2 separate regions of the Homo sapiens genome follow, and region 1 is linked to region 2. Evidence: promoter capture Hi-C in human tissues and cell types (Jung and others, 2019). All regions are on one chromosome and are shown on one strand. The core of a region is centred on a gene start or on the middle of the fragment in contact, and the rest is flanking DNA. Distances in the headings are between cores, read along the strand shown.

Region 1 (6,798 bases), core at 1,817-4,316, 290 kb after region 2:
ATAAATCAAACAAATGATATGTGAGGCCTATACACAGAAAACAACAAAATTGTACAGAACAAAATTAAACATAACTTAATAGAGGAATATACCTTGTTCCTGGATTAGAAGACTCAATATTGTAAGGTTCAACTCTACTCACACTGTTCTATAAATGCAGTGAAATCCCAATCAAAATCCCAACATTATTTTTTTTTTGGAAAGTTGACAAGATGATTCTAAAATTCCTACAGAAAAGCAAAAGATTTAGAGTAGCCAAGGCAATACTGAAAAAAGTATTGTTACTGGGCCGGGCGCAGTGGCTCACGCCTGTAATCCCAGCACTTTGGGAGGCCGAGGCGGGCAGATCACGAGGTCAGGAGATCAAGACCATCCTGGCTAACACAGTGAAACCCCGTCTCTACTAAAAATACAAAAAATTAGCCGGGCGTGGTGGCGGGCGCCTGTAGTCCCAGCTACTCGAGAGGCTGAGGCAGGAGAATGGCGTGAACCCGGGAGGCGGAGCTTGCAGTGAGCCCAGATCTCACCACTGCACTCCAGCATGGGCGACAGAGCTAGACTCCGTTTCAAAAAAAAAAAAAAATACTGGAGGACTCACTAGCAAATGGAGAGGCTTACAGTAATAACCAAGACACTGTGGTTTTGGCACAGCAATGATAAGTAAATCAATGGAATTAGAATAGAGTCCAGAAATATACCCATATGTAAGTGGTCACTTGAGTTATGACACAGCAGTAACTGCATATTCATATGGAAATCAAAATGGACCCTGGCCTCACATCATATGAAAGACAAAATAAAACATCTAGAGGTCAATTAAGGATAACATCTTCTTGATATTGGGGAAGGCAAATATTTCTTTTTTTTTTTTTTTTTTGAGACAGAGTCTCACTCTGTTGCACAGGCTGGAGTGCAATGGCGCAGTCTCGGCTCACTACAACCTCCGCCCCCCAGGTTCAAGCAATTCTCATGACTCAGCCTCCCAAGTAGCTGGGATCATAGGCATGCGCCACACACCCAGCTCATTTTCTATTTTTCTCTTTTTTTTTTTTTTTTTTTAGACGGGGTCTTGCTCTGTCACCAGGCTGGAGTGCAGTGGCGCGATCTCAGCTCACTGCAACCTCCGCCTCCTAGATTCAAGCGAGTCTCCTGCCTCAGCCTCCAGCATAGCTGGGACTGCAGGCGCACACCACCATGCCCAACTAATTTTTGTATTTTTTGTACAGACGGAGTTTCACCATGTTGGCCAGGATGTTCTCGATCTCTTGACCTCGTGATCCGCCCACCTTGGCCTCCCACAGTGCTGGGATTAAAGGCGTGAGTCACCATGCCTGGTCTTCTTTGCATTTTTAGTAGAGACAGGGTTTCCCTATATTGGCCAGGCTGGTCATGAACTCCTGGCCTCAAGTGATCTGCCCGCCTCGGCCTCCCAAAGTCCTGGGATTACAGGCATGAGCCACTGCACTCAGCTGCAAGTATTTCTTTGATAGAACACAAAAATAGCTAACCTTAAAATAAAAGATTAAAAAATTGGGCTACACTGAGATTAAGAATTTCTATAAATTAAGAACTCCTGTTAATCCAAAAAAAAAAACCATTATCAGAGTGAACAACTAAGCTATAGAAAATATTTGCAACATGTGTCTGACAAATAATTCATACACAGCATAAAAAATTATTTCAAATAAATTTAAAAAGAAAAATAACCTAGTTTTAAACAATCGGCCAGGTGCGGTGGCTCACGCCTGTAATCCCAGCACTTTGGGAGGCCAAGGAGGGCAGATCACCTGAGGTTGAGAGTTCGAGACCAGCCTGACCAACATGGAGAACCCCCGTCTCTACTAAAAATACAAAAAATTAGCCAGGCATGGTGGTACATGCCTGTAATCCCAGCTACTCGGGAGGTTGAGGCAGGAGAATCACTTGAACCTGGGAGGCGGAGGTTGCGTTGAGCCAAGATTGCCCCATTGCACTCCAGCCTGGGCAACAAGAGTGAAACTCCATCTCAAAAAAAAAAAAAAAAAAACTTAAAAAAAAATCACTAAAAAATCATGGGTCCTATGAGAAAATGAAGAATATATCTCATCTTAAAGAACAGGTATAAAATGACAATAATGGCTAGGCATGGTGGCTCACGCCTGTAATCCCAGCACTTTGGGAGGCCAAGGTGGGCGGATCACAAGGTCAGGAGATAGAGACCATCCTGGCTAACACGGTGAAACCAGTCTCTACTAAAAATACAAAAACAAAAAAATTAGCCGGGCGTGGTGGTGGGTGCCTGTAGTCCCAGCTACTCAGGAGGCTGAGGCAGGAGAAGCTCCCGGGAGGCGGAGCTTGCAGTGAGCTGAGATCGCGCCACTGCACTCCGGCCTGGGTGACAGAGCGAGACTCCATCTCAAAATAAATAAATAAATAATAAAAAAATAAAGTGACAATAATATAGAGGATGACTAACTGAAGTCTGGTAAGGGAATCAAACAAAGCTTTCCCAAACAAGTATAATTTAACATGGATTTTAAAAGATGAATTGGAGGCAAAAAGTTGGGAAAGAATGCTCCAAGTAGGTAAATAATCATGAACAAAAGCAGGAAGGAATACTTCTGCAGTGGAAGGCCCAGAACAGGTCCAGTAGCCCTGGAGTGGAAGTAATTGAGGGAGGCAGGAGATAAAGCACAAAGCCTCATCATATACTCCATGCTTATGAGTTGGAGTCCATGTGGCAGATAACCAGGAATCAAATGCAATAATACTGGAACAAAAGCATGGTTGTGAATGTTCAGCTGGTTTGCATGGAGCCTGCCTGGAGTGGTCTATCAGAGGTAATACACCATAATGGTAAGCCCAAGCAGGGTCTGTCTGAGCCCATGACCCAGGCTCAAATACCAGACCTGTCATTTTCTACTTCTGAAGCCTAGAAAAAATTATTTTTTTATTCCTCACCTCTAAAAAAAGGGCAATAAAGGTATCTACGTTAGAGAACTGTTGTGAAGATAAATGTGTTAATACATCAGTATATATAAAATGCTTCAAACACTGCCTGGCACATAGCATTAAACATTAGCTGTTACTGGTGTCATTAACAAATGTATTTCTCCTACCCACTAGAGAAGCAACATGATACAATAATCATAGAATAGAAGTCCAGATGCACTATGCACAATAGCAAAGACTTGGAACCAACCCAAATGTCCAACAGTGATAGACTGGATTAAGAAAATGTGGCACATATACACCATGGAATACTATGCAGCCATAAAAAAGGATGAGTTCATGTCCTTTGCAGGGACATGGATGAAGCTGGAAACCATCATTCTCAGCAAACTATCACAAGGACAGAAAACCAGACACCGCATGTTCTCACTCATAGGTGGGAATTGAACAATGAGAACACAGGGACACAGGGTGGGGAACATCACACACTGGGGCCTGCCGTGCGGCAGGGGGAAGGGGGAGGGATAGCATTAGGAGATATGCCTAATGTAAATGACCAGTTAACGGGTGCAGCACACCAACATGGCACATGTATACATATGTAACAAACCTGCACGTTGTGCACAAGTCCCTAGAACTTAAAGTAAAATAATAAAAATAAATAAATAAAAAAGAATAGAAGCCCAGATGCCTGAGTGCTGTCAGTCCTTATGGTCACCAAATGGGTGACTTTGGACTTTCTCAATTTCTCATTGCCCAATTGTAAAAAGACTACATGATCACAAACCTCAGATTTTATTTTTTTTTCAGTAACTGCTCCAGAATTCAGCAGGTTGAAATATGACTACTATGACTCAGTTTTTTTTATGATTATAGATTTTTTTCAGCAGCGTATATTGGATTGATATTTAGCCAAATGACAATGTTTTCCCTTTCATGTTTATTTATTGCCTGTGTTTGAGTTCAAGGAAGAAAAAAATTCAAAATGTGATTATTAATATGAAATTAATACAGCCCAAAGGAAAGTTCTCATTTTCAAAAGAAAATGTACAGTTACCAATTTTTCTTACTGATGATTACACAGAAACAGTTATGAGGCTTTCTTCATTTCTGAAGGAATATTACCATGAGACTCTCACCATATCAGCACTGGTATGCTAAGAGGTAGAGGGATGAGTAAGAAATGGGTGGAGGTGGCAGTAATGAAGGAGTATATTATCACTAATATTATTTACAATTGTCAGCACATGCTCTCAAAAGCAGACTGCCATCTAGTCAATCTTAGTGTTTTTAAATTCTGTGGGAGACACAGCAGCTCCCACTGTCCCCTATTTTGTTATGCCATTGCATTTCAGTACAAGAAACCAATTATTTTATTGTAAGAAAAATCCTAAGTGAAAAAAGACAGGAGGCAACTTTAAAAATATTATACAACATATGATCTCAAATATAACACATCTGAATCTTCTATTTCAGGGATTTATATAAGATATCAAAACACATACACATTCACTTGTGTATACATGTATGTCTCTATTTATTTAATAGGTAAGAAAATTTCTAACATCAATAGCAGTGATTATCTCTACTGGGAGATTATGATTGCCTTTTCTTAACCCTTTCTTGAATTTTTCCATATTGACTATAAGGAATGTATGTACCCTAATAATAAAAAATAAACCTTCGACTGGGCGCAGTGGCTCACACCTTTAATCCCAGCACCTGGGGAGGCCGAGGCGGACAGATCACGAGGTCAGGAGTTTGAGATCAGCCTGACCAACATGGTGAAACCCTGTCTCTATTAAAAATACAAAAATTAGCAAGGCATGGTGGCGCACACCTGTAATCCCAGCTACTCAGGAGGCTGAGGCAGGAGAATCACTTGAACCTGAGAGGCAGAGGTGGCAGTGAGCCGAGATCATGCCACTGCACTCCAGGCTGGGCAACAAAGCGAGACTCCGTCTCAAAAAAAAAAAAAAAAAAAAAGAAACCTTCTATATATACATTTGTCGCACTAGTAAAACATATTTGCTAATAAATATTTTGGAGGTATTTTATCTGTATCATATTTTTGCTACTTTAAAATTTCAATAATTGTCTCTATAATCCTGATACTTAAAGAGTAAACAGGTGGAAAAAAATCCAGATCCCATATAACACAGAGATCATTCGGGTGATGCCCATAAGCACACATGATTTTACCTATATATTTCCTATGAATCTTTTACCATATCCCTCAAATATTAGACTTTAAATCACTTGAAGTGGGCTTTTCCCCCCATCTGTATGAATTAGCAGAGTGCCTTGCACATAGCTGGGACTCAATAAGCATAGGTAGACTTAAACTATATGTAGATTGTTAAAACTTTTTTTGTACAGAAATAAATTTTATTAGCTTAAAATCAGATGATTAAGACATCTTAAAAATAGCTTTAAAACAAAAAAGGACTTTCCTTAAGATTCAGAATTAAGTAGTTACATTTACATTCTATTCTAGTAGGAAATTGAAGATATATTTTCCCCTTGAAAAGACATTTTGTTTGCTATTGGACGTCAGCTTCAGCCTATTGTCAGCTTGTTGCTGACCATTATCCCAACGCCTGTTACAACCTGTCTTACATTCTTCTGTATGTGTTAACTAACCAAAACACAATATTATTATGTCCAAAATCAGATTTCACAACATCACTGTCACTAAAAAACATCTCATGACTTCCCACTATTCTCTTCCACAAGGTTTGATCAAAGGACCTTCACAATTTGGCCGTAATCAACCTCTCTCAACAACTCTGCTTTCCTTTTTTTCCACCCTACTCTACTTCTCTCACGCTCCCCCGCTGTCTGAAAATGCCCAGCTCTCCACCATACATCTCCTACTTATCAAAACTATCCATCTAAATGGCCTGTTAAAAAAAGGGACCTCCTACGTGACCCCTTCCCAGTTTCTCCTTCTTCCACTCACCTGACCCAGCATAAAGGAATTGCGAAATAATTGCCTGTAAAAGTTTGTTTGAAAAGACTAAGTGTTGGGAGGTTCTGCTTCTCAGCAGGGTAGATAATCTCCTGTTTTATTAGGTCCTGGGACAGCATCTAATCCGTCATGTTCTTATCTCATATTCTGTATTTACCCACTCCTTTGCATCTGAATCTTATCCAAGTTACTTACAACTAGGTCCTCAGGGTCAGGACTGTTCTCCAAGTCAGTCTATTTGGGTTCCAATGTGAACCCTCATCTAGAGATACTTAGACATGTGTGTTGCCAGATGTCAGTGACTGGGGTTACGGATCAACCATCCAAAGGCTATGGTGAAGTCGTAACTTAAAAGTCCCCTTAACTCAGTCTCTATGCCTGCTTCCTGATCCCAACTTTGGGGCCTCTGACACCAACCTCAAATGACAATACCATCACTCCAACTGCTCAGGCAAAAAATGTTGAAGTCGTCTTATGTTGTTCAACCTATTTCACATCCCATGTTTCACTACCTTCAAAATATACCTAAAAACTAGCCATTGCTGCCACCACCTGACCATCTAAGATACCATCACCCCACACCTGAATTATTTTAGTAATATCTGATATGCTCATTCTTAGTCCCCTACAGTCAATTTTCAATATTACAGCCAGAAGTATACTGTTAAAATATAGCAGGTTTAAAATTGATGTCTCTCTTTTGCTCAAAATTCTCCTGTAGATTCCTGATTTACAGGAATCATAGCCAAGTTCCTTAAAATGGCCAGTGGGGATCCCCAAGATCTAGCCTCCATGTTTCCTCTCTGATGCATCTTCTACTCATCTCCTCTTTGCTGTCGGGTCCAACAACTGGTCTCTGCTCTTCTTCTAAAAAACAAGAAAGCTTCCCCTATGTC
Region 2 (6,547 bases), core at 2,948-5,447:
ACCATTTTATTCACACCTTTTAGGAAAATATGCAATTAAGGAAAAGGCTGGGGCAGAGGCCATAAAGAGCTACAGAGATACAGACTGGCCCATGAAGGCAGAAGCTGGCTATACACCACATCACAAAAAGTTCAGTCATGAAAATTAAGGGATAAAAATTGACATTAATTAGTGTCTATGTGTCAAGAAAAATATGTATATGCCTGTGTCCCTTTATATGTCTTTATAGAGGGTATACGTACATTATATCCTGATACTATTTCTATAATGCAGTCATTATCGATCTTTAATTTGTAATTATAAAAAAATTGACTTGGATAGTTCAATAACTTGCTAATGGCACACAAGAAGCAAGAAGCATAGCTAGACTGATGTTTTCCTATTTTCCATATGGAGACAACAACAGATATGACAGAAGCATACCAGATGAAACATATGATATCTTTGAATGCAGATATGAGAAGCAGAAAATTGATCATTTTCCCTAGGTACTTAATGTTTAAACTGACTAGAACACATTTCTCCCTACAATTGTCATTCAAGGAATCAGGAGTAAAAATTAACATCAGTCACATTTCTTTACATTTCCCCAGAGGCTCCCCTGATATACACACTAATTTAAAAAAATGATAATGCTCACAATATACCAATTGAATAAGTTGATACATCTACTTAGCTGTAGTAGAAGACATAGTTAGGAATAGGTTATAGGTGGCATTATTCTGAAGATACTGAAAAGATACTCCTTCCAAAAAGAACCTTACCCTATGCTCCTTCCTTAGAACTTAAAATTTCACATTAAACATGCTTACAGCTTTTCATTGAATGTAAATACTCATAACATTCTATTTAAAACTTTACTCCCCCAGGAAACTGCTTTCCATCTTTGGGAGGAGTATATGAGAGTGGAGAGGTGGCATAGTGATAAAGAGGGACTATGGGGAGAAGAAAAAGAGATGAGGACAATCAAGACTTTGTTATGCTACCCACAGCATATCCTATTACATCACTTCATGAAAGGACATTGTGGAGAAGATGACTTCTAACTGATGGCATTATATTTGTAAGCCCAAAAAGGTTGAGATTTTCCAAGCAGTTATATGAAAGTACAAATGGTGACTGGACCTGAAGGCTCAGTGATTACATCTGCTGCCTACACTGTGGTATTTTACCTTCATACTTAATATTGCATCTTTATTTTGCATAAATCATGTGACATCCTGTCCTACCACTCTATGTGCAAAATTACTTATACCAGAGGGGCAAAGAAGCAATTCTCAATCTAATTCATTTTGCAAATTTGACAGTGACATCAAAGAGCAGGAAGTTGTCTGTGAGTAACGACACTACTCGTTTGTTTAAATGTCAAACCTAAACCTCATCAACTTTCAGGCAGTATGTCAGAAAAGAATGCATTTCAGTTCAACCAGAGAGGATTTCAGTGTTATTCAGTCCTGAGGAAAATAGCTGTCAGTTTCTTTAAGGCAGAGTGCTTTGAGTAAATCTTTCTTTTTAGGCTGAATGGAATTGGCCATTTCAGCACTTGGGGCTGTGGACAGTGCTATCTTCCTTGACATTATGAAACAAGTAGCCTTACTGTAGAGGTGTTTCCTTCTTGAAACTAAAACTCCCCAGGCTAGCAAACATGTATCCCTAAACTATGCAATTAGGATATGGAGACTATTCACTACAAGGTCTATGCAAGGTAAAAATGCAATAACAACAAAGAAGAGCACATTTTACCACAAAGATTCAGCCGAAAATTAAAATAAGGAAGGCAAATAGTTACTATTGATAGCTATTCATAAAAAAATTACTGCTTCTCTGGAAAGGTTTTTGGTGAAGAGAATGACAGTGCCATTAATCCCTCATTGTACTTTATTGGCAGTGGGCGTTGATGCAGAGGAGAACAGGAACACATCTAATAAACTTGCAGACAATCAGGAGCAGAGAATCTATTCTCTATATGCTTTTTAGCTCTAGAGTGGAATAACAATGGAGAATTCTGGATCTGAGGTCAGAAAAAATGGAACTGAATTTAAATTATGTCCCTTAATACGTCATTTTATTTCTCTAAGTCTTGTTTCTTCTTCTGGCTAATGTGGGTTATTTTGATATTTAAGGGAGAGAATGTACATGAAGGGCTCTGGCACACAGTAGGTACTCAATATATGTTCAATTTTGATTATTCACTTATCAATAAGTGTTGGCATAATGCAGTAAAATGTTGCTATGCTGGTAGCCATGTGTCTTAAGAGATGTAATCCTAAGGATGGGTAACAAGAAGAAGGAAAGCAAGATTAGGATTATTATCAACAGAATTATGCTTATAACAAGAATCCTAATCTTGTGTATTTCCACTTTTGTTTCATTTTGTTAGTATCCCAAAAAGATTTCCTTTATTTTTACTTTTAAATCAACCAAAGGAAAACAGTCTAAAAATAATATTTAAAAATGTACTAAAGTTCTCAGAGGTTTCTTGTCTCCTCAAATAACATTCTACCAACACTCTGGAGAACTCCTGTCATTCACATACTATCATCTATTCTGCCTGCTGAGTTGGTGAGAGACTACTCGGGATGATTTCTACCCAGACCAACACACTTGGGAGAGAAGGCAAAAATCAGGTTAGTCTGAAAGCCTGATAATTTCCTTGTCAGTCCCCATTGCAGCTACAAGTTCTTTGCTTTTGACTGCAAAGCCTCCCAGCCTATCTCACCTCACTCACCTTCTTCTTCTTTTATAAATGAAAATCAAGAGCAACTCCTAGCCTCCTCCATCTCCTGTCATTTTCAGCAGAGACTTCCTCCACACTGCCCTCTGCATGTGAAAAGTCTCCCAGCCTTCTACTCTTCATTCATCAAGGTACACTCTCCTTCCATTCACAATTTATTTCAAGTTATCCCTCCCTTCCAAAGCCCCTTTTCTGGAGGTATATTCCCCAACTGCCCTAATACATTCCATCATCGCACTCACCATGTTGCCATCTCACCCCCTCCCCAACCCTCAGAAATTGTTTAGGGGGAGGGGGATGAGGGGTCGAGGAAACCCGTGTTTGCATACAGACCTAGACCGGGACAAATAGCCTAGCATTAAGCTTAGTCTCATCTTTGGAGAAAACAAAACAAAACAAAACAACAACAAACAGTTGACATGAATAATTCCTGAGCCTGGCAACAAGCAGACTGAAAAAAAAAAATATTTGGCTGAATGGATGTAAGAATGAATGGATGGATGGATGATTGAGATCTCTGTGGTACTTTTCTCCGATGCCCCTCCTTCTTGCTCCAGGCATGGATCCTGTTTAATTCAGCTTCTATGAGTGAGTGCACTTCCCTGCTTTGCCTCCGTCTCCACTCCCTGCTGGTTCATTACCACCTCTTGACTGGAGACTAAACCTCCTCGCCAAAGGGCAATGCCACCTAGCTCACAAATGCTTTGTGACTTCCACAGCCACAGAGAGCTTGCTCCTTAGGGATGTAGCTTTGTATTCTGCAAGCTCTGTCTCGTCCCAACCCCCCTGAAACACCCAGCCACGTTACACAAAGGGATGACTGACTCCCCCACCTACCCACCCACACACACACACACTCAACAAAATCCACCTGGAGATCCCTGCCGCGGCCCCTCTCCCTGCGCTTGTAATCTAGGTGCTCGAAAAAGAAACGCGGTTTCCCCGTTATTCCTGCAAAACAGGGAATAACCTTTCCAGGGCTCGGTCCCGGTTCGGAAAATCAGAAAACTTTCTATTATTATTATTATTTTATTAGAAAACCCCATCCGAGAGCAGCGACCTCTTTGTTTGCTTCCCGGGGGAGGGAGGGGTCTCTTTAGAGCCTTCTCAGCCCGGGGCGGAGAGGGGGTGATAGCCCCTAGGAGGGCTGCCCGGGAGGAGACTCACCCAGGACGTTCCCAATGAGAGCCACGACGAACACGATGATGTACCCGGCGATCAGGACCCACTCATATTCTTTCGGGTGCAGGTATTCCCTCCACAGGTACCGCAGGAATTCCTCGTCGTCATAGTCGGTGGGGTTTAAAAAGGGCTCTTGAGTTTCATTCAGCTCCGAAGCAGATGACCAGTTGCGACAAGGGGGGGAGTCCTCCAATTTGGTGCCGGACATCACGGGCTCAAGTCCGGTTCCGCTCAATGCTGCAAGCTCCTCTCCGCCTGCCCCATGAGCACTGGTGATTTGCGGTGGGAAAGGCTGCGCGGAGAGGCTAGAAGGGGCTCCCGAGCAGAAAATGACGTGAAAAGTTACTGAGCCAATGCCTCCGGAGTCTTCTGCCGGGCAACTTCTGCGGTGGCTTTGCTGTCTTTACAGGCGATGTTGCACCGGGAAGATAGGCAGCTGAGGAACTAGGGACCCGGCACTGGAGGCTGCAGCAATGACACCAGGAGGAGAAAGCTACGTCCGGCTCAGCTGAAGCTCAATTACTCCTCATTCCAGCACTCAGTCCGCAGCCCACAGCCTCCTCCCTCGCTGAGGGAGAGCTGAAGCTGAAGAAAAAAAAAAAAGTAATGAAAACTAATTTAATCTGTTTTTTTGGGGGGTGGGGGGTGAGAGTTAAATCTCTCTCTTTTTCTACTTATTTTCTCTATTTTTACGTGCACTTATTATAAACCATGCACAGACATGCATCAGTCTGTGGATATGACAAAAATGTCAACATACAATTAATACAGAGCATGTTGATACATTTGTCTTTGTAAAGCAAATATAAAAGCAATAAGGAGGTGCCTCTGTGTTTCTCAAGCAGGACAATGGAAAAGTCATTCCAGGCAAACACTTTAACATTTAATATAAACTTATTTTAACATTTGACATTTGCCAACTTAGTACTTGCCGAGTCTTTAAGACATCTCCGTCTTCACTTTCTCCTTAAAATTTGAGAATGAGACTGTTTTTAAACTGAAGGGTCTATTTAGCTGGAATTTGTATTTGCGATAGTTAAGTGTCATGTGAAATAGAGCTACAAATTCTTGAAGGACGCCAAGTGTCATAAATATGATCATAGTTAATGTTGTCAAGCATGACAGACCACCAATATACTCAATGATATTAAACATTCACTGTAGGATGTAGCAATCTAAGCAGAAGTGCTCTCTCTGGTAAATACCACATCCCATTGGGTCTTTCTTCCCATTGATTCAGGGCTGATGTCACCTGCCATTCTCTCATGCACTGGTTTTGTCTCTAATAATAAGTATTCTAGCATTTGTCAGAATGTGAATTCATGATCCTTTTATTCTTAATAAACATGGTAAAAATATTGCATTTAAGTAATTACAATCTTGCACTTGGGAAGAGCCTGGAAATCTTGTCTGAACTTCAGCTTCAGAGTAGAAGCCTCCTGATAACATTGCTGACATGTCCCCATCTAGCTTGAATGTGACCACCACAATTCACTACTTCCATCCTTATGGGAGTGCTCTAAGGGTGAGAAAACTGTTTCTTACATTAAACCAAGGTCTCAAGCCACGATTTGTCTTTTTGAGACTTTTACCTCTAATTCCTAGTTTGCATCTTGGTGCTACACAGAATAAATCTTCCACATGACAATGCTTCACAGATTCAAAATAAACATCACAGCCCCAGCGCTCCTTTATATGCCCTCATGTTTCTTTTTTAGTATTTTTCTTTTCAATGTTGTTCAAATGACAGTAGCTCCCACCTACATCTGTTTGGTCTTCCTTTAGACAATTGTCAATATCTTGCAAAATATGTAACTGGGAGGAAGTAACAATAATATGGTTTGAGTCTTGCCAGTGCAAAAAGTACATTATTCTTTGGATGCAACCAGTTTTTATATGTAATTATTTTTTCAACACACACAAGACATTGGTGGTTTACACTGAGATTTAGTTAACTACCCCACCCCCTCCTCCAATCATAATTTTTCATATTTGTTTTGTGCTTTATGGTTTATAAAATTATTTCATATGCATTTTTAAACCCCTGAGGGCTTAGCTATTACTAACCCCCTTTAATAGATGAGGAAGCTGTTCCTGGGGAAATTAGATGATTTACGAAAGATAAATGGATTAATCAGCAGCAAAACCATCTGTTCTTTCTTCTATTTATAGAATACTTTTTGGGACATAGTACTTCTGTTATTGTATAGATATCACATTTTATGAGAAATATTGTTGTATTTCCCCAATCTGCACTAATTAAATTTCTTTTTAAGAGAAGGGCATCAATGGGCATTTTATTATTTTACCAAATATTTCCTGAGGGTTATTTTTCCACTCTTAGTGATACAAAGTTAAACAGGTTGCTGTTTCCATGCATTTTACTTTCTAGTAAAGTTAGATTAAAAAAAAACAAACTAACAAATACATAGGGAAAACGTTAGGAAGGGATAGATGCTATAATGCAAACCAAACAGGATGAGGTGATGATGAGTAGAAAATCCCAAAGGTCACATTAGAAATGATTGTTCAAAAAGGCTCTATTAAGAGATGATATATAAGCAAAAGACCCAATTGATATGTGCATATATTAATTTCATTCTGTTAATTTGAAGTTTAAACAGACCTTAA

What was found. The method cuts DNA at HindIII sites, captures the fragments that hold promoters and counts their contacts. A contact is called where the count stands out against the background at its distance.
Region 1: a fragment that was not itself captured here is called in contact with the fragment with the promoter of HCRTR2 in region 2 in 2 of the 25 tissues and cell types used here (stomach and thymus).

What each region holds. Positions count from the first base shown.
Region 1 is chr6:54,878,561-54,885,358 of GRCh38, reverse strand. All of the region lies in intron 2 of FAM83B (family with sequence similarity 83 member B), which reads right to left. Among named protein-coding and RNA genes, the nearest start is that of FAM83B, 35 kb to the right of the region's middle. The HindIII fragment of the contact is 8,757 bases long and covers 1-6,798 here.
Region 2 is chr6:55,172,165-55,178,711 of GRCh38, reverse strand. HCRTR2 (hypocretin receptor 2) reads right to left here and starts at 4,197. Exons shown (of 7, transcript NM_001384272.1): 1 at 3,902-4,197. The coding sequence starts at 4,124. The HindIII fragment of the contact is 12,053 bases long and covers 37-6,547 here.